Linked DNA regions of Homo sapiens: regions 1, 2, 3, 4 and 6 are each linked to region 5. Evidence: promoter capture Hi-C in 16 types of primary human blood cells and fetal thymus (Javierre and others, 2016). All regions are on one chromosome and are shown on one strand. Each heading gives the region's core, a stretch centred on a gene start or on the middle of the fragment in contact. The rest is flanking DNA. Distances are from core to core; before and after follow the strand shown. Region 1 overlaps NR1D2 (nuclear receptor subfamily 1 group D member 2). Region 2 holds the start of SLC4A7 (solute carrier family 4 member 7). Region 3 overlaps LOC124906221 (a long non-coding RNA gene). Region 4 overlaps NR1D2 (nuclear receptor subfamily 1 group D member 2). Region 5 holds the start of NGLY1 (N-glycanase 1). Region 6 overlaps NEK10 (NIMA related kinase 10).

Evidence for each region. Contacts are between HindIII fragments. The CHiCAGO score rates a contact against its expected background, and 5 or more counts as called.
Region 1: a fragment that was not itself captured here is called in contact with the fragment with the promoter of NGLY1 in region 5 in 8 of 17 cell types (activated CD4 T cells, total CD4 T cells, total B cells and 5 more); the score reaches 13.7 in activated CD4 T cells.
Region 2: a contact is called between the fragment with the promoter of SLC4A7 here and the fragment with the promoter of NGLY1 in region 5, in 4 of 17 cell types (fetal thymus, non-activated CD4 T cells, activated CD4 T cells and 1 more). The highest score is 16.2, in fetal thymus.
Region 3: a contact is called between a fragment that was not itself captured here and the fragment with the promoter of NGLY1 in region 5, in 1 of 17 cell types (non-activated CD4 T cells). The highest score is 6.0, in non-activated CD4 T cells.
Region 4: a contact is called between a fragment that was not itself captured here and the fragment with the promoter of NGLY1 in region 5, in 1 of 17 cell types (total B cells). The highest score is 5.5, in total B cells.
Region 6: a fragment that was not itself captured here is called in contact with the fragment with the promoter of NGLY1 in region 5 in 1 of 17 cell types (non-activated CD4 T cells); the score reaches 5.8 in non-activated CD4 T cells.

Annotation. Positions count from the first base shown.
Region 1 is chr3:23,948,849-23,951,578 of GRCh38, forward strand. The region is part of intron 1 of NR1D2 (nuclear receptor subfamily 1 group D member 2); the gene reads left to right. Among named protein-coding and RNA genes, the nearest start is that of NR1D2, 4.9 kb to the left of the region's middle. RefSeq lists a silencer at 1-184. The HindIII fragment of the contact is 1,040 bases long and covers 887-1,926 here.
Region 2 is chr3:27,482,846-27,485,665 of GRCh38, forward strand. It overlaps SLC4A7 (solute carrier family 4 member 7), which reads right to left and starts at 1,539. Exons shown (of 26, transcript NM_001321103.2): 1 at 1,222-1,539. The coding sequence starts at 1,281. RefSeq lists enhancers at 278-337, 498-707, 738-797, 813-1,589, 2,068-2,197 and silencers at 968-1,037, 1,068-1,427, 1,458-1,937. The HindIII fragment of the contact is 9,889 bases long and covers 1-1,858 here.
Region 3 is chr3:27,643,498-27,646,197 of GRCh38, forward strand. All of the region lies in intron 1 of LOC124906221 (a long non-coding RNA gene), which reads left to right. Among named protein-coding and RNA genes, the nearest start is that of LINC02084, 68 kb to the right of the region's middle. The HindIII fragment of the contact is 153 bases long and covers 1,243-1,395 here.
Region 4 is chr3:23,968,467-23,971,166 of GRCh38, forward strand. The region is part of intron 7 of NR1D2 (nuclear receptor subfamily 1 group D member 2); the gene reads left to right. Among named protein-coding and RNA genes, the nearest start is that of NR1D2, 25 kb to the left of the region's middle. RefSeq lists a silencer at 378-578. The HindIII fragment of the contact is 182 bases long and covers 1,223-1,404 here.
Region 5 is chr3:25,782,054-25,784,753 of GRCh38, forward strand. It overlaps NGLY1 (N-glycanase 1), which reads right to left and starts at 1,390. Exons shown (of 12, transcript NM_018297.4): 1 at 1,207-1,390. The coding sequence starts at 1,337. RefSeq lists enhancers at 740-819, 980-1,029 and a silencer at 1,340-1,579. The HindIII fragment of the contact is 11,918 bases long and covers 1-2,700 here.
Region 6 is chr3:27,364,515-27,367,214 of GRCh38, forward strand. All of the region lies in intron 1 of NEK10 (NIMA related kinase 10), which reads right to left. Among named protein-coding and RNA genes, the nearest start is that of NEK10, 3.5 kb to the right of the region's middle. The HindIII fragment of the contact is 1,070 bases long and covers 905-1,974 here.

The DNA of each region.
Region 1 (2,730 bases), core at 157-2,656, 1.8 Mb before region 5:
TCTTGAGGGTGAAGGAGATACTGCATGTGTATGGATCCCCACTCAATTTGCAGTGATATATGTAGGTTATAGCTAGTGGAAAAGGATAGTCATCTGCAGGGCCTCCCAGTTTCATCAGTCCTCTCTTTAGTCATGCTGGCTTATTTCCAGACATTAGATTACACCTTGACCTCCCTTCTCCAGTAATTTACATGGAGATAAAAATAATGTCTATTTTATAAAATAAGACCGATTTGGCTGGGCATGGTGGCTCATGCCTGTAATCCTAGCAATCTGGGAGGCTGAGATGGGCAGATCACCTGAGGTCAGGAGTTCGAGACCAGCCTGGCTAACATGTGAAACCCTGTCTCTACTAAAAATACAAAAATTAGCCGGGTGTGGTGGCGGGTGCCTGTAATCCCAGCTACTTGGGAGACTGAGGCAGGAGAATCGCTTGAACCGAGGAGGCGGAGGTGGCAGTGAGTCGAGATCACACCATTGCACTCCATCCTGGGTGACAGAGCGAAACTCCGTCTGAAAAAAAAAAACAACAAAAAACACACCATTTATTTTTGTGTCACCCTATTTAAAAAATGTCTCTTTTGATGATTTAAACAGTCTTCAATTCCCCACTTAGATATTGCAACCTTGGATGTGTTTGCCCCTATTGATTTCTGCCCTCTTTAGTATGATCCTCAGCAGTCACAATCATGTGTGTGAAACATTGCTCCTAATAACATAGGTGTTTCCCCAGTTGGCCTATAAGGCATTTTAGGGAAAGGACCATGCTGTTCTCTGGAGCCCTGACACCTAGGACACAATTGGAATTTTAGTGCTTCAGTTAGATCTACTCTACCACCCTTGGAGTAGAAATTATTTATAACACTTTTAAAATGAGGGAAACTAAAGCTTCTTGGTGATAAAATGTTTTGTTCTAAGTCACAAGGCAGAAAAGTACAGTCATGACTTGAAGTCAAACATAATCTCCAGGATGGTGGACAGAGGAAGTGTGAGGGTTTTGATGATGGACAAGTGTAGAAAATGGGTAAGAAGACCCCAATATATGCAGGAATATCAGTGCTTCCTAGCAGTACAAAATTGGATATTGACTTAAGGCTTGTCTGAAGTTGACCACTGGGTAAGCCCTAGCCTGGGAACCTGGCCCAGGTCCAGGGTCCCTTTCAACTGAAAATAGAGAAGACTGCTTCAGCTAATTTTAGCTCAGGGTTTCAAAGAGGTACATACTGCCTGTTTCTTGGAGGTGTTGGGACTTGCTGGTTTGGGGATTTTTACTCTTCTTACTTTATCATCAAAAACAGTGTATGAAAAAAGCACTTATGAATGCCATTTCATTTCAGTCTTGTAATAAGTGGCAGATATTCCAATTTTATAGAAGACCACTCAGGTTTAGAAAGATTGAAAGTGACTTGCTTGCTCAGGTCTTCTCACCAAATAAGTTTGTACTCTGGAATTGGACAACCTTGACTTTAAACTTTGGCCTGCCACTTAGTGGCTGACTTATCCTCTCTGAGCTCCTTGTTTAAAAAATGATTTGATGAAAGTTAATTCACAGAGTTCTTCTTGTGAGGATGAAATTGTGTCATTTTATTCCTGACATCCAGTAGGTACTTGGTGACTTGTAGTTTCACTTTCCTTTCTTCATTAGGTTGAGGAACTACTAGATGTACTCCTTTTCTTCTAAGAAATTAAAATTTAACCCATTTGGGTTGCTATCAGTCAGGTTCATAGATGGGTGTCTAGTAGCAAGAATAGATGCCAAGACAACTAAATCAATATTGAAGGTCTTGCTAGGAGAATGCAGCTACTTCTAGATGGGTCTTCTTTGATTTTCTGGTGCCTGGCACAGATGCTTGTTTTCTTAAGACAGGAATTGGATCTTCGCTGGATTGATAATAGCCCAGTAGTTTCTTTTAGGTTGGATATTGAAGCTTTTGCAAAGGAAATTGTTTTTTGGTTAATTAATTACGATACAGTCCATTGCCCCGTCAGTGCTTGCAACCAATTTTTAAGCCATCTGCATAGCTCTAATTTCTTTTCTTTTCTCTTTCTTTTTCTTTTTTTTTTTTTTTTTTTGAGATGGAGTTTTCACTCTTGTTGCCCAGGCTGGAGTGCAATGGTGCCATCTCGGCTCACCGCAACCTCCGCCTCCCGGGTTCAAGTGATTCTCCTGTCTCAGCCTCCTGAGGAGCTGGGATTACAGGCATGCGCCACCACACCTGGCTAATTTTGTATTTTTAGTAGAGATGGGGTTTCTCCATGTTGGTCAGGCTGGTCTTGGACTCCCGACCTCAGGTGATCCGCCTGCCTCGGCCTCCCAAAGTGCTGAGGTTACAGGCGTGAGCCACTGTGCCCGGCCAGCTCTAATTTCTAAAAGTTTATTTCTTAGCTAAGGTAGTCAGCAGATCTTGTGAACATAAATGACTGAAAATGGGGGCCCTAGGAAAGTCTTACTTCCAAGGAAAAACATCACTTTCTTATCTTTTATTTTCCTGAGATGTTAGATGTGAATTTAGTACTTAAGACACTATTTTAGAGAAGACAAATAGCTGTGAGATCTTCCTTTGGAATTTCATTGAGGACTAAGAATATTTGTCTTTGTAAAGTGTCCTATTGTGAGTGGAGACATCTGTGAAAAAGTAGCAGTGTGCTAATACCTGGAATTTTTAATGTGGACTTAAGATCTCTAAAGTTATATAAAGACAGCACAATGGTTTTATCCAGTAACATGAC
Region 2 (2,820 bases), core at 289-2,788, 1.7 Mb after region 5:
CTTCCAATAACCACTGCTAAATGACTTCACTGTCTGGTGACTGAGTTTTCTTCTATGTTAGAGAACTTATATGAACGTACTGAACTAATGAATGACTACTTTCCATAACCTTAACTATAATCCTAAAAGTTAAAAGGGAAAGCCGGCAGGCAGTTTTAAAGACAACTCTTGAATAAAAACATAGGAGAAGTAATTTTCCTCTTAGTTGTGAAAGACCGGACAATTTTCCCTGCAACCTTCCCGCCTTTGCTGGTTGCATAGTAAAAATTAGAAGTAGGAAAATTTAGAATACTTCCATCTCCTTTGAGTCACGAACTTGGAAAGGAGAAAGAGACAACTGCGGGGACGCATGTGCTCTAAAGAAAGCAGGAAGTCCGCTTCTTGAGCATGGGCCGTTCACCCATCATCACAAATGGGAACACCGGCCTTAAGTCCATCCCCATTCTCTTCTAACCCTGAAATCAAAGCCAGTCTCAGTAGGAAACGCGATCTTGCTAGCTGAGTTAGAGAAGGAGCACCAGACAGCTCAGGACACCCTCCTCCTTCTACTTGGCCTGCGGCAGGAGGATACTCCCCGGGTCCCAGCCAGTGGAGAAGGCGGACCCGGCAGGCAACAGCGAAAGAGCCTTGGCCGGGAAGGAGCGCGGCCAGTCCACGCGGCCGGAGAACTCACCGAACAAAGCGCACCGCGGAGCGGGAGGGGACACTCGGAAAGAGGGGGAAAGATTCAACCAGCTCTTCACCACTGCCTGGGGCTAGAGACAGGTGGAGCCGCCGTCCTCCTTAGAAGGAGAAGAAAGATAGGTTTTCGAGGGCTAATCTGAAACTCCTGCGCCAAGGCAACCGGAACCGGGACCCCGCCTGGGGAGCGCGCTAAGAAACAGGGGAGGCGAGCGCTGAGGGAAGGGATGGATGGTCGGGGTCACAGGCGGCCTCTGCGGGGATGTCGGGGTCCCGCCTGAGCCGCGCAGAGGATGCCCGCGGCGCGCCGCCGGCCGCCCCGACTCGGGCCTCCCGAGCGCAGCCGCTGGCCCCCTCCCACCCGCGCCCCAGGCCGCCACACAAAGGGGATGGCGAGGCGCGCCGGCCGCCGGGAGGTGGAGGGGCGACGGGCCTGGGACGAGGTGGCCGAGCCGCGACGCCCGCCGCGCCCCCCGCCTTTGTCTGCCTCGCCCCGCGCCCTCCCCCTGCGGAGGAGCCCCACCGCCGCGGCGCCCTCACCCTGCTCGTTACCCGGGTGAGTAGCGGTCTCATCTGCTCGCCGGCCCCATCAGCCTCCATGGCCGGCCGGCCAGCCCGTGACGGCCGCTACGGTACTGCCCCGCGCGGTCTGCCTGCTTCTGCCGCTGCCCCTGCCGCCGCCGCCGAGCCCCCGGCGCGCGAGGACAAACGTGGGTGCGTCCGTGCGCGAGGTGTGCGCGCGTGGGGAGAGCCGGGCGCCGGGCGCGGGAGACGCGGGGCGTGCGTGTGCGCGCTGCGACTGCTGGGCTGGCTTTAGTAGGAGAGCGAGGCCGCGGCGTGGAACCTGAAGCTAGAACTGAGCGAACCGGCGGACCGAGCGGGAAGGAGGAGAGCCGCGTAGGAGGAGGGGTTCGGGGGCGGAGCCGCAAACCGTGACGAGCCCGGCGCCGGGGCCAGGCAAGACACGCCCCCCCGCCCCGCCTCCTCGGGTCACGCCCCCTGCCAGTCTGGCACCGCCAGCCTCCTCAGCGCGCCCGCGGGCCGCGCCGCTAGGCCACCGGGAGATGGGGCGGGAGGGAGGCGGGACGGACATTTGTCCCAGCCAATCGGCGGCTGGCGGACTTCCGCTCGCCTCCCCCGTGCCACCTCCTCAGGACGCACCGCCCCTCTTTGTATAAGCTTAATTGACCGAAGCTGAGCGTCTAACTAGTTTTTCAAGTCGGAAGCTCCCCTGACGTTCTCAATGGGGTGGGGGGTCACCACCTCCCTTGGCTCCTAACTACATTCTTTAGAGGCTGCAGGGAAGGAGGACGCCACCTCTGTCAAGGACGCCCAGGATAACCCTCCGAAGCAACTAACGAGTCTTCACGACTCCTGGAAGTTTCTTTTCTGTCAATCCAGTAGGCACGAACCCCAACTCAGGGACCGTGAAAGATGGGGTACACTTGACCAGGTGTCCTCCTGTGCTTGCTCGCCCACTGAGCACCACGACAGCTGCCACTTTTTTTTTTTTTTTTTTTTTTTTTGAGACAGAGTCTTGCACCAGCCCAGGTTGGAGTGCAATGGCATGATCTCGGCTCACTGCAACCTCCGCTGCCTGGGTTCAAGCTATTCTCCTGCCTCAGCCTCCTGAGTAGCTGGGACTACAGACGCGCGCCACCACGCCCGGCAACTTTTTGTATTTTTAGTAGAGACGGGGTTTCACCATGTTGGTTAGGCTGGTCTCGAACTCCTGAGCTAAGGTGATCCACCAGCCTCAGCCTCCCAAAGTGCTGGGATTACAGGCATGAGCCACCACACCCGGCCAGCTGCCACATTATTGAGTCCACCCTGTAGGCCGTCTCTCAAATATCCCTTCTGTAACGGGATGATTGTAATACCTGCCATGCAGGCTCATTGAAGGATTAAGGGGATTTATATTCATAAAAGTGCCTGGCACATAGCATGCTGATAATTTTCATTATTGTTAACAGGTTTCTCTTGAGTGTTTCATAAAGATGAGAAATTTGGCCGGGCGCGGTGGCTTACGCCTGTAATTACAGCAGTTTGGGAGGCCGAGGCGGGCGGATCACCTGAGATCAGGAGTTCGAGACCAGCCTGACCAACATGACGAAACCCCGTGTCTACTAAAAATACAAA
Region 3 (2,700 bases), core at 69-2,568, 1.9 Mb after region 5:
CAGAGGAGAACAAAACAGAAAATATCCTTAGCTCCTAGAGCTGACTAACATCCTGCTCTCAGCTCAAGGGGGTAAATACCTGTGGCATTTCTACTCACAATCAATTGGTTTGTTTATTGACTGTTGCCAAATTTCGGGGGTTTTTTAAAACTGAACTTCCTTGACAGTAACAAAGCAAGACTTTGTATTTATTAATATACTTTAAAAAATTAAGGTGGAGAAGTTTTTTCAATATGTTTTAACGTATCCGCAATGAGAACACATGCGCAAGCAGTCTATTGAGAACTCAGAGGTCAACAAAAGAAGGTTGAACAAATGTTTGGATTGTCAGTGTCATCCTGCAGATGGATCTGCTCTCCAGATGAATTTTTAATACAATCTCAGGTCCTTTTCATTGGAAAATTATCTTATTTTACACTGATACATTTATCTATGCATCTATTTTTTTTTTATTTTTTTAGAGATGGGGTCTTGCTCTGTCACCAAGTTGAAGTGCAGTGGCATGATCATGCATCCTCGAACTCCTATGCTCAAGCAATCTTCCCACCTCAGCCTCCCAAGTAGCTGGAACTACAGGCACGCACCATCATTCTTGGCTGATGTTAATTTTTGTAGAGACAGGGTCTCACTATTTACCCAGGCTAGTCCCGATCTCCTGGCCTCAAGCGATTCTCCTGCCTTGGCTTCCCAAAGTGCTGAGATTATAGGTATGAGCCACAGTGCCTGGATGACTTTTTATTGTTTTAAAATTTTTTATATACATTTATTTTTCCATATTATGAATGTAAAATGTAAGTAAGTTTTTAAGGGCAGAAGACAGAAGAGAGAGTACATGTGTTTTCAGTTCTTTGGTCTGCTAATTGTGTGAACTCAGAGGTGACAGGCAAATAGTTAAAAACAGGTGTGGCTAGACCCTGACTATGCAGAACAAGTATGGATTTATGGGCTCATACCAGCTGAATATGAGGCCTGGAGTGACATCAGAAAATGGTTTCCTCTCAGCTAAAAGGGGCCTATATTGAATATTCAAAAATTAGTAGTCTGCAGACAAAGATGAGCCTCAAAGTTTTAAGCCCAGTATTATTGATTAGAGTACGCATTCTCTAGTTTGCCATAGGCCTCGCCACTCTCTATTGCGCACACCCTATTTTCACAATTGCTTTGCATACATTTATATAACCAGCCATGACACATAGATGTCTTGCCTATGAAGGTATCTGAGTTTTCAGTCCTTGAATTGGAAGCTTTCCTTGGCTCCCCTATCAGAGCTCTGACATTTCTGGTTCTTGTTCTTTCTCAACACCCTCTTCGTGTTGTGCTGTTTCACCAGGACTTAGCAAGTGCCGTGGGAGACAAGGGTCTTAAATATAGTGTATTTAATTTAGATGTCTCTTAAGCTTCATCCTCTATTTGCTCAATGATTTGGATTCTGGTTTCTGTTCAATTTTATCAGTGGGGGAGAGGGGTTTGGTGGGGATGCGGGGAGAATCAGTTATGAATTTTTAAACAGATTTGAAATGAGATATTTAGATAGAAATGAAAATATGGGCACAGAAATGTCTCCCCTCTCCTTGTCCATCTAGAGAAAGGCAATCTTGTAATCATTTAGACCCAGTTGTCTCCAGATGGTTGTGTGATGTGTCACTCTAAGACAGAAGGCAGGACTCAACTCCAGGACCTTAAAGAATTATTGGTCTGATTTGGCTCACTTCTTTTTTTTTTTTGCGACAGAGTCTCACCCTATCCCCCAGGCTGGAGTACAGTGGCATGATCTTGGCTCACTGCAACCTCTGCCTCCTGGGTTCAAGCGATTCTCATGCCTCAGCCTCCCGAGTAGTTGGGATTACAGGTGCCTGCTACCACACCCGGCTAATTTCTGTATTTTTAGTAGAGATGGGATTTCACTATGTTGGTCAGGCTAGTCTCGAACTCCTGACCTCAGGTGATCTGCCCACCTCGGCCTCCCAAAGTGTTGGGATTACAGGCATGAGCCACCATGCCTGGCCAGCTCACTTCTTAGGGTATAGTTTTGGGGGCTAGGGATGAAAAGAGAAGGGGGAAACCATCTAGTTTCATATCTTTTTTTTTGAGACAGGGTCTTGCTCTGTCACCCAGGCTTGAGTGCAGTGGCACCATCTGAGCTTGCTGCAACCTCCATTTCCCAGGTTCAAGCTGAGCCACCAAGCCCATCAAATTTTTGTATTTTCAGGAGAGATGGAGTTTCACCGTGTTGATCAGGCTGGTCTCAAACTCCTGGCCTCATGCGATTCGCCTGCCTTGGCCTCCCAAAGTGCTGGGATTATAGGCATGCACCTCCGTGCCCAGCCTCTCATTTCATATCATTTAGAATTCTGTTGTTGTGACCTGAGCCATCACATGGGACAGCCCAAGGGCATCCTCAAATTAAAAGAGTGTTTCTCAAAGTGTATTTTCTGCACCACCTGACAATAGCATATTGGTCGGGCATGGTGGCTCATGCCTGATATCTCAGCACTTTGGGAGGCCAAGGCAGGCGGGAAGACCACTTGAAGCCAGGAGTTCAAGCCCAGCTTGGGCAACAATGTGAGGACCTGTCTCTACAAAAAATAATGTTTTAAAAATTTGCTGGGCACAGCAGCACACACCTGTAGTCCCGGTTACTTGGGAGGCCAAGTCAAGAGGATCGTTTGCGTCCAGGACTTCAAGGCTGCAGTGAACTGT
Region 4 (2,700 bases), core at 64-2,563, 1.8 Mb before region 5:
TAGTCCAGTTCTGCCATTGAATTATGTGGGTAACTTGGGTAAGTAACTTTACTCTTTTGGGTCTTGGATTCCTTCCTCATCCTGTCAAAGGAAGGGGTTGTACCATGTGAGCCTAGTGTGGTGTCTGGCATAGAAGAGCTACTCAGTCACTGTTTGAATGAGTGAGCAAGATTTTTGAGTTTCTAATGTTTATTTATATGAGTCATTTATGATGTTTCCCAATGCCCCTGCCATCTTGCATTAATATTACAGTTATTTCTGACAGTACCCATTAAGGCAGAGATTGTTACTCCCAATAACAAATGGAAATTGAGGTACTTTCCTGGGTATGTCTAAGTAAGTGCCAGCTATTTTTAGGCATCATTTTATTGTATAACATTTGGGAATTTTTTAGTATTTGGTTATGACTTTGTTTCCCATTTGCTTCCTACTGTGTAAAGGGCACTGTGCTAGGCATTGTGAGAGTTATAAGTTACGGCCTCTGATTATGTAGCTAAACCATAAATTAGTAGCTCTTGAAAGAGAACAAGTTCTTGGCCAGGCGCCAGGGGTGCACGCCTGTAATCCCAGCACTTTGGGAGGCTGAGGTGGGTGGATCACCTGAGGTCAGGAATTTGAGACCAGCCTGGCCAACATGGTGAAACCCCCTTCTCTACTAAAAATACAAAAATTAGCCGGGCATGGTGGCACGTGCCTGTAGTCCCAGCTACTCAGGAGGCTGAAGCAGGAGAATCGCTTGAACCTGGGAGGCAGAGGTGGCCGTGAGCCGAGATCACACCAGCTTGCATTCCAGCTTGGGTGACAGAGCGAGACTCCGTGTTAAAAAACAAAAACAAAAACAACAAAAAAAAAACAAGTTATTTGTATAATTTTGAGGACCTGTACCTCAGTGGAATAAAGACTTGCCATTTGGTAACATAATTTGGCTACCTTTTCTGACCAGCTCTACCTGGATAACTAAAAATGTGTATATGACGTGGGAGTAGTATGAAAGGAATATGTCAATAAGGGATATCTGTTTTATAGCTAATTTATAATGCCTCTTGCATTTTACCTATCATTTGCAGAATCTCTTGATAAGTAATTAGTATTGGTTTGAGTTGACATCAGATTAATCGATTATTTTGAAACCACAGATAATCAATACTTGTTAAATTATTTATCTGATGAATATGCCGTACCTATTAGGTGCTCAGGGGGAGACAGAAAGCTTTAAGGCACAAGCTTGCTAAGTGTTTTCATTCTTTTTGGAGAGATGAAACTACACAAAGAGCTTTATGCTACTAAACCGTGTAGTTCTCTGTCTGAGGTAAGCTGGAGTTGTAGAAAGGAAGGTGAAATCATCTTGGAAGGCTCTGTGGGGAAAGATAGAAGTGGAGCTGGAATTTGAAGGTTGAATTATTAAGCTTTCCCAGTGAAGAAGAGATGGAAAGGCATGAGAGAGTACGAGATAGGGCCGGGGAAGGGTCAGGTGGCCAAAGCCTGGAGTGTACATCAAGGAGGAAGGGGGACAAAAGCCTTCAGAGTTAGGGGAGCACCAGGTTATGGACTAACAGCTATGAGAACTAAGCGGGGAGATTTTAACCAAAATATGGGGCAGAAGAAAGTCTGTGTACCTTCTTAAGTAGGAGAGTGATCTGGTTGAACAAAGTGATGTTTAACATTAATTCTGCATTTTTATTGTGGTGGGCAGATTAGATAGGTAAGTCATTAGTGCTAGAGAGTTAGGTTGAGAAGCTTTTGAAATGACATCAGGTGGGGTGAACTCTTCTAAAATAAATTAAGGCAGGTGAGATGAAGTAGAAGGGCCAACTTCCCAGAGGTAGTTCAGAGGAAGAAATGATGGCAAAGGGGTAGAGGGAAACTCTGTATGCCAGGAACGAACCTTGTTATTTCAGGATAGGAACATGATTTTTAGTTTGATTTAATCTGTTTTTGAAAAAGCCTTTTTTCTGATTATAAATTTAATATGGGTTCTTTGAAAATGTAGAAAATATTAAAATGGAAAAAAAAGGTTATAATATCACTACCAGAAAAGATCACTATTAATATTGGGGAGTCTTTATCCATTTACCTATCCATCTATCCATTCGCCTATCCATCTATCCATTTACCTGTTTGTTTATATAGGATATATTTTAAAAATGGAAAATTAAGTGTGAAAGACTGATTGTAAAAGAATACAGTGCATTCTAATTTTTGTTATGTCACTGTATGAACATATACAAGTACACATATATGAAGTTTCATGTCAAATTTTAATCCTTACCACTTAAAAATTACTAGCTGTTTTTTGTTGTTGTTGTTGTTTGTTTTTTTATTTTTATTTTTGGAGATGGAGTTTCTCTCTTGCTGCCCAGGCTGGAGTGCAATGGCATGATCTCTGTTCACCGCAACCTCCCTCTCCTAGGTTCAAGCAATTCTCCTGCCTCAGCCTCCTGAGTAGCTGGGATTACAGGCATGCACTACTACACCCAACTAATTTTGTATTTTCAGTAGACAGGGGGTTTCTCCATGTTGGTCAGGCTAGTCTCGAACTCCCAACCTCAGGTGATCCGCCCGCCTCGGCCTCCCAAAGTGCTGGGATTACAGGCATGAGCCACCGTGCCCGGCCAAACAGCAGCATAAATTACTAGCTGTTTTTAAAGCAGTATCTAGGCAGGAAAATGAAATTCAAACGCTACAGAAGAGTTTAAAATG
Region 5 (2,700 bases), core at 140-2,639:
CCCCACACAGGTCACAATTATGTAGCTGTGAACAGGCCACATGTTGCATCTTTCATAGCATCTGCCACAAAATAAGGGCTCAATATATTTTCCCTTCAATTTACTTTAAAAATCATTACCATTGCCTAAATGAAATATTACTGACATGGATTTTAAAAACTGCACATGTAACTAATGTCTAAAATTGGGTCACGTGAAACCTATAACCTTGAAACTGAGAATTTCCTTTTAGACTTCATGACAATATACCAAACACTTAATGCACCAGGGGCTGAGGGGAACAGAGAACCTAATTAATCACGGTGACCTGATAAATGAGGTAACACCCCTAAAGCAAGTGGCTCTCCTTTAACCTCAGTTCCATTTCCCTACCCCCCCACACCATGTCCCTTCAGATCATTTGATCTGAAGAGTTGAGGTGGGTACTTATTCAAAATGAATAATCAAACTTGCCTCCCAATTCCCAAAATCTGCAAGGTCCCTTAGACCTCTAGAAGTGCAATTTTGCTGACAGGAGAATGAAGGAAATTACTCTCATCCAAGGCGATTACCTCCACGAATTCTTAAAGGGTTATGTTACATAGTAGAATCCAGGTATTAATATAAAAACTGTAACTTCAAAATACTATAATGTTTCAATCAACAAAAGTGGGCAGAAAAAAAATTAAAAATTTTAAAACCCACCACTTCAGAAGCATTATGCTTTAGTACTCGGATAGTCTCAACATGGGAAGAAAACATCACTTTGTCAGTGAGTAACTTCTGATAAGTATGTGGAAATGTAAGCCACTCCGCTCGAAAAATGCACGCAGGGGGAATGACACGCGCGGTGCGGTTACCGTTGTGTCCCGATATCTGAGGCCGTTAAACGACGAGAAGAGCGGCAGTGTCTGAAGCACGCCTTCCTACCTCTCCTCCGCCCGGCCCCGCTTCCGGGACTCCAGTTCACCCGCAGCACCCTGACTGCAGGTGCCAAGTCACAACTGCAAAGAAACTTCCTTTTCTCGAGCGGGGGTGGGACTTGGCCGGGTCCCGAGGCCCCTGGCCGGCGGGCTCGGACGTTAGGAGCAGAACCAGCTCCAGGTCCCGGTCTGTCCGGGCGTCGCTGCCCTCTGAAGCTCAGGCCGGACGCCCCAGTCCCTGGCCGAACAAGGTGCCGCGGCCCACCCACCCCGGTACCCGCCGTCCGACCCCGTTGCCCTGCACCTGAGGATGTTGTCAGCATAGGTGAGCAGCAGCTTGGAGGCCTCCAAAAAGGTCTCCGGGGTGTTCTGGCAGAGCTCAGCCACGGCCGGGGACGCCGAGCCTGAGGAGCTGCCCAATGCCGCCGCCGCCATGCTTGAGCGCCAGCGGGCGCCGCCGCCGCCCCTCGCTCTCCGCGTCCCACACTGAGCAGGCGCCTCAGCGCGCAGCAGCTACCGCAGCCACCGGCAGGGGCGGGGTCCTCGGCCGGCAGGGGCGGGGTCCTCGGCCGGCAGGGGCGGGGTCCTCGGCCGGCAGGGGCGGGGTCCTCGGCCGGCAGGGGCGGGGTCTTCGGCCGGCAGGGGCGGGGTCGGGGGCCTGGGGCGGGGTCGGGGACCGGGGCCAGGAGCGGGGGAGCTCGGCTGGGAGCTACGGCTGCCCCTTCGCGGGGGGCAAGGGGCTGTTCGGAAGAAGGTGGGGGGCCTCGGCCGGCAGGGGCGAGGTGCTTCGACCCAGAGTTGGGGCCTGGTCGTACAGGTTGGGAAGGGGTTCCGCAGGGAGAGGCGGGGCCTGGGCTCCGGGGCTGAGGGGTGTGGGCCTGGAGGAGGGGGATGTCGAGTCCTTTAGGACGGAGGAGCTCGGCTGGAGGGGAGGCCGGCTTTGGTCTAGAGGTATCGGGCGAATGGTGCTGGCACGTGCCTCTCAGAAACCCGGATCCCTTTGCGCTCCGGGGCCAGCCTAATTGATCCAGCTATTAAGGTGGAGAAACCGCATGTACCTCCCTCCTTTCCCCACAAATAAAACCACCTTAGAGCCTTCTCTTCGCAGATTGTCAGGACGTTCTACATAGATGTGGATGAAAGACTACAGAAGGAAGGAGCAACAAACGTCAAAAACAAAACCATGGCTATAAACTCTGCTGGGTTTGTTATATGGATTCTTTTCAGAATTTGGCTAATGACTGAAAATCTAAGTTCCAGCTCAACTAGTATATGATTCCTCTGTAAGGAAGTGTATTTTTAAACCATAGGTTGCGACATAATAATGGGTTGTGGATTCGGTTTACCGCGTGGTGACCAGCGTAAAACACATGCATAATAATTACGCAATATTATAGAATGTCGGGGGCGGGAAGGGAATAAAAATTTGCATCCCACACAGTAAGGGTAAGTAATATTTTGTGACTTGTTTTTTAGGTAGATCATGTGATCAAGGTCTTTTATTCCTCTTAGAAGATGCATCCCTTACTACTTTAATCCAGTCTCTTCCCCACCATGTTCTTGAAAGTGTACTTTACCAGTGGCTTCCTTCTTTGCAGAAATTCCTTTTCAACCTCACGAAGTATTTTTCTTGACTTTATTTCTTAAGATAAGTGATTTGCCTGAATAACCTCTTTTAAATTTCTTGATGTTTCATCTGTTTACTTTTAAGAATTGAAATTTTCTTCCAGAATCTCCGAACAAGACCCTAAGCTATGACATCCAGTTCAATGACTATTCGTCTCCCAAATATACGTAC
Region 6 (2,700 bases), core at 190-2,689, 1.6 Mb after region 5:
ACAGCACCCGGCCATGTATTTATTTTAAATCATTTGTCTATATTCATTGACTTTGACTCATTAATGAAAAATACTAGAGATAAAATTAAAAATAGAGTTTAAATTCAATGTCACAAATGGTTTTCATTTTAATTTTTAAAAACCTATTAAGGGTTATTCTTACAAGCACATTAGTATATTCATTTAATCCTCAAAACAACCCTCTGAGGTGATTAGTATTATATCTCCAACTTACAGATGAAGAAACTGAGGCACTAAAATGTCAAGGAACTTGGCCAAGATCTCATACCTAGTAATAACAACAGTCATAATAAGAGCAAACATTTACATGGTAGTGCCAGCACTGTTCTAAGTGCTTTCTATACATTACCTAATGTAACACTCCTAATGAATCTGTAAGGTAGCTACCCTTACTGTCCCTAATTTACACATGAAGGAAATGAGGCCCAGTGAGGTTCATTCATTTGCCAAGGTCCCACAGCTGGTAAGTGGCAGAGCAGAGATTTGAAGCCAGGCAGAACCCTTCCTGTTAATCTAATGCAGTACTAACTCTCATTTATTGGTGGCATTTATCCAGCTCTCTATTCACCTAAGTGAATTTTCTAGATAAATATTTACTTCTTTAATAAAGAAATATTATTTTATTCATACTTTTCATATTAACTGTCTTTTGCAAAATATACTAACTACTGTGGAACATTTTCCTCATGGCCCAAGGTCAGTGTTATGGCTGCTGTGCTTTATCTGTCCTGCTTGTAGTTTTTACTTTAATTTTTACAGGAGGGCTTAGGTATCTTTTGTAGACATGAGCCAGTCAATTGTCATTTTGTCACTTTGATTCTGCTGACTGCTTTGAAGCTAGAATCTGTGTCTATCATAACTATTTCTAATATAAGATTTAATAAGCTTTGAATTGATGCCAACTGTATGGACTTAAGTCCATGACTTTCATTATGACCATGGCAGATTTTAGCTGAGATGAGGGGAGTTTGACCTATAGATAAGTAATTATTTTACCAAATAAAAAAACTATGTATTTTATCCAGTGCTCATATTCCTGTTTTTTTGTTTTGGTTTTTTGTGTTTTTTTTTTGTGTTTTTTTTTTTTTTTTTTTTGAGATGGAGTCTTGCTCTATTGCCCACGGTGGAGTGCAGTAGCACGATCTCAGCTCACTGCAACCTCCTCCTCCCAGCTTCAAGTGATTCTCCTGTCTCAGCCTCCAGAGTAGCTGGGATTACCAGCACGCGTCACCACACCCAGCTAATTTTTGTGTTTTTAATAGAGACGGGGTTTCACCATGTTGGCCAGGCCGGTCTCAAACTCCTGACCTCAAGTGATCCTCCCGCCTCGGCCTCCCAAAGTGAGCCATCATGCCTGGCCATTCCTGTTTTTTAAATCATGATACATATCAGGCATATACATGAGTTTGTTTAAAGTTCACTTTCATCTAGAAGATGAAATCTTTCAAAATGTAAGACTTATTCCCAAATCCAAGCCATACACCCTGTCCACAAGCTGATGATTACTATTCCCTCATCCTGCTTTACTTATTTCTCTCCTTGTATTGTGTTCCAAATAGAACACAATACAAATAAATAACATTTACATGCTCCTGAGGCATACTGACCACTGTTCTAAGAAATTTTTCCATATTAATTCATGTAATGTTCACAACCACCCCATTTTACAGATGAGGAAACTGAGGTGCAGAAAGATTAAGTTAACTTGCCAATCCCATATCTAGGATTTGGGGAGCTAGGATTACAACCCAAGCAGTCTGGCTCCAGAATCTGTGTTCTATGAACTCTGCTCTACTGCGCCCTGAGAACTGTCCTAAGAGAATAGTGCCTTTGTTTTGTTCACTGCTGAAGGCCCAGGTGTTCAATAAATATTTGTTGACTGTCTGGATGAACTTCCAGCTCCTCTCTGCCTATCCAAGTGCTCAACCCAGTTCACTTTGACTTCAGCCTCAAAGCTTGACTGGCTGTGACAGGCAGAGTAACATTCCAGGCCCTTCTTCCACCTCCTGAAGACTTTATTTGTTGCACTGTCTTTTGGCTCACCCTCACTGGGCATGGAGCCCCAAACCCATTAGATGGTCAATAAATACTCACTGAATGATTGAGACTCAGAGCTGTATCAGAGCTGTCGCCAAACACAAAAGTTTGTGATCAAGTACTATAACAACAGGATGGTGTCCTAGAAATTGCACTTGACTGAATCAAAAGATTGATTTTTACCTTTTGTAAACTCACCATGACAATTTCACAGCTCTAGACTTCAGTGTGTTCATTTTTTTTTTTTTTTTTTTTTGAGACGGAGTTTCACTCTTGTTGCCCAGGCTGTAGAGCAGTGGCGTGATCTTGGCTCACTGCAACCTCCGCCTCCCGGTTCAAGGGATTCTCCTGCTTCAGCCTCCCAAGTAGCGGGGATTACAGGTGTGCGCCACCATGCCCAGCTAATTTTGTATTTTTTGTAGAGATGGGGTTTCACCATGTGGGCCAGGCTGATCTTGAACTCCTGACCTCAGGTGATCCACCCACCTCATCGTCCCAAAGTGCTGGGATTCACGGCATGAGCCACCATGCCCAGCCCAGTGTGTTCATTTTTAAACGTGAAAGCTTACTATATATAAAGCACTATACCTTTGGTATGAATTATGTACATATAATCTTTAAAAGAATCCTATGAGCTAGGTG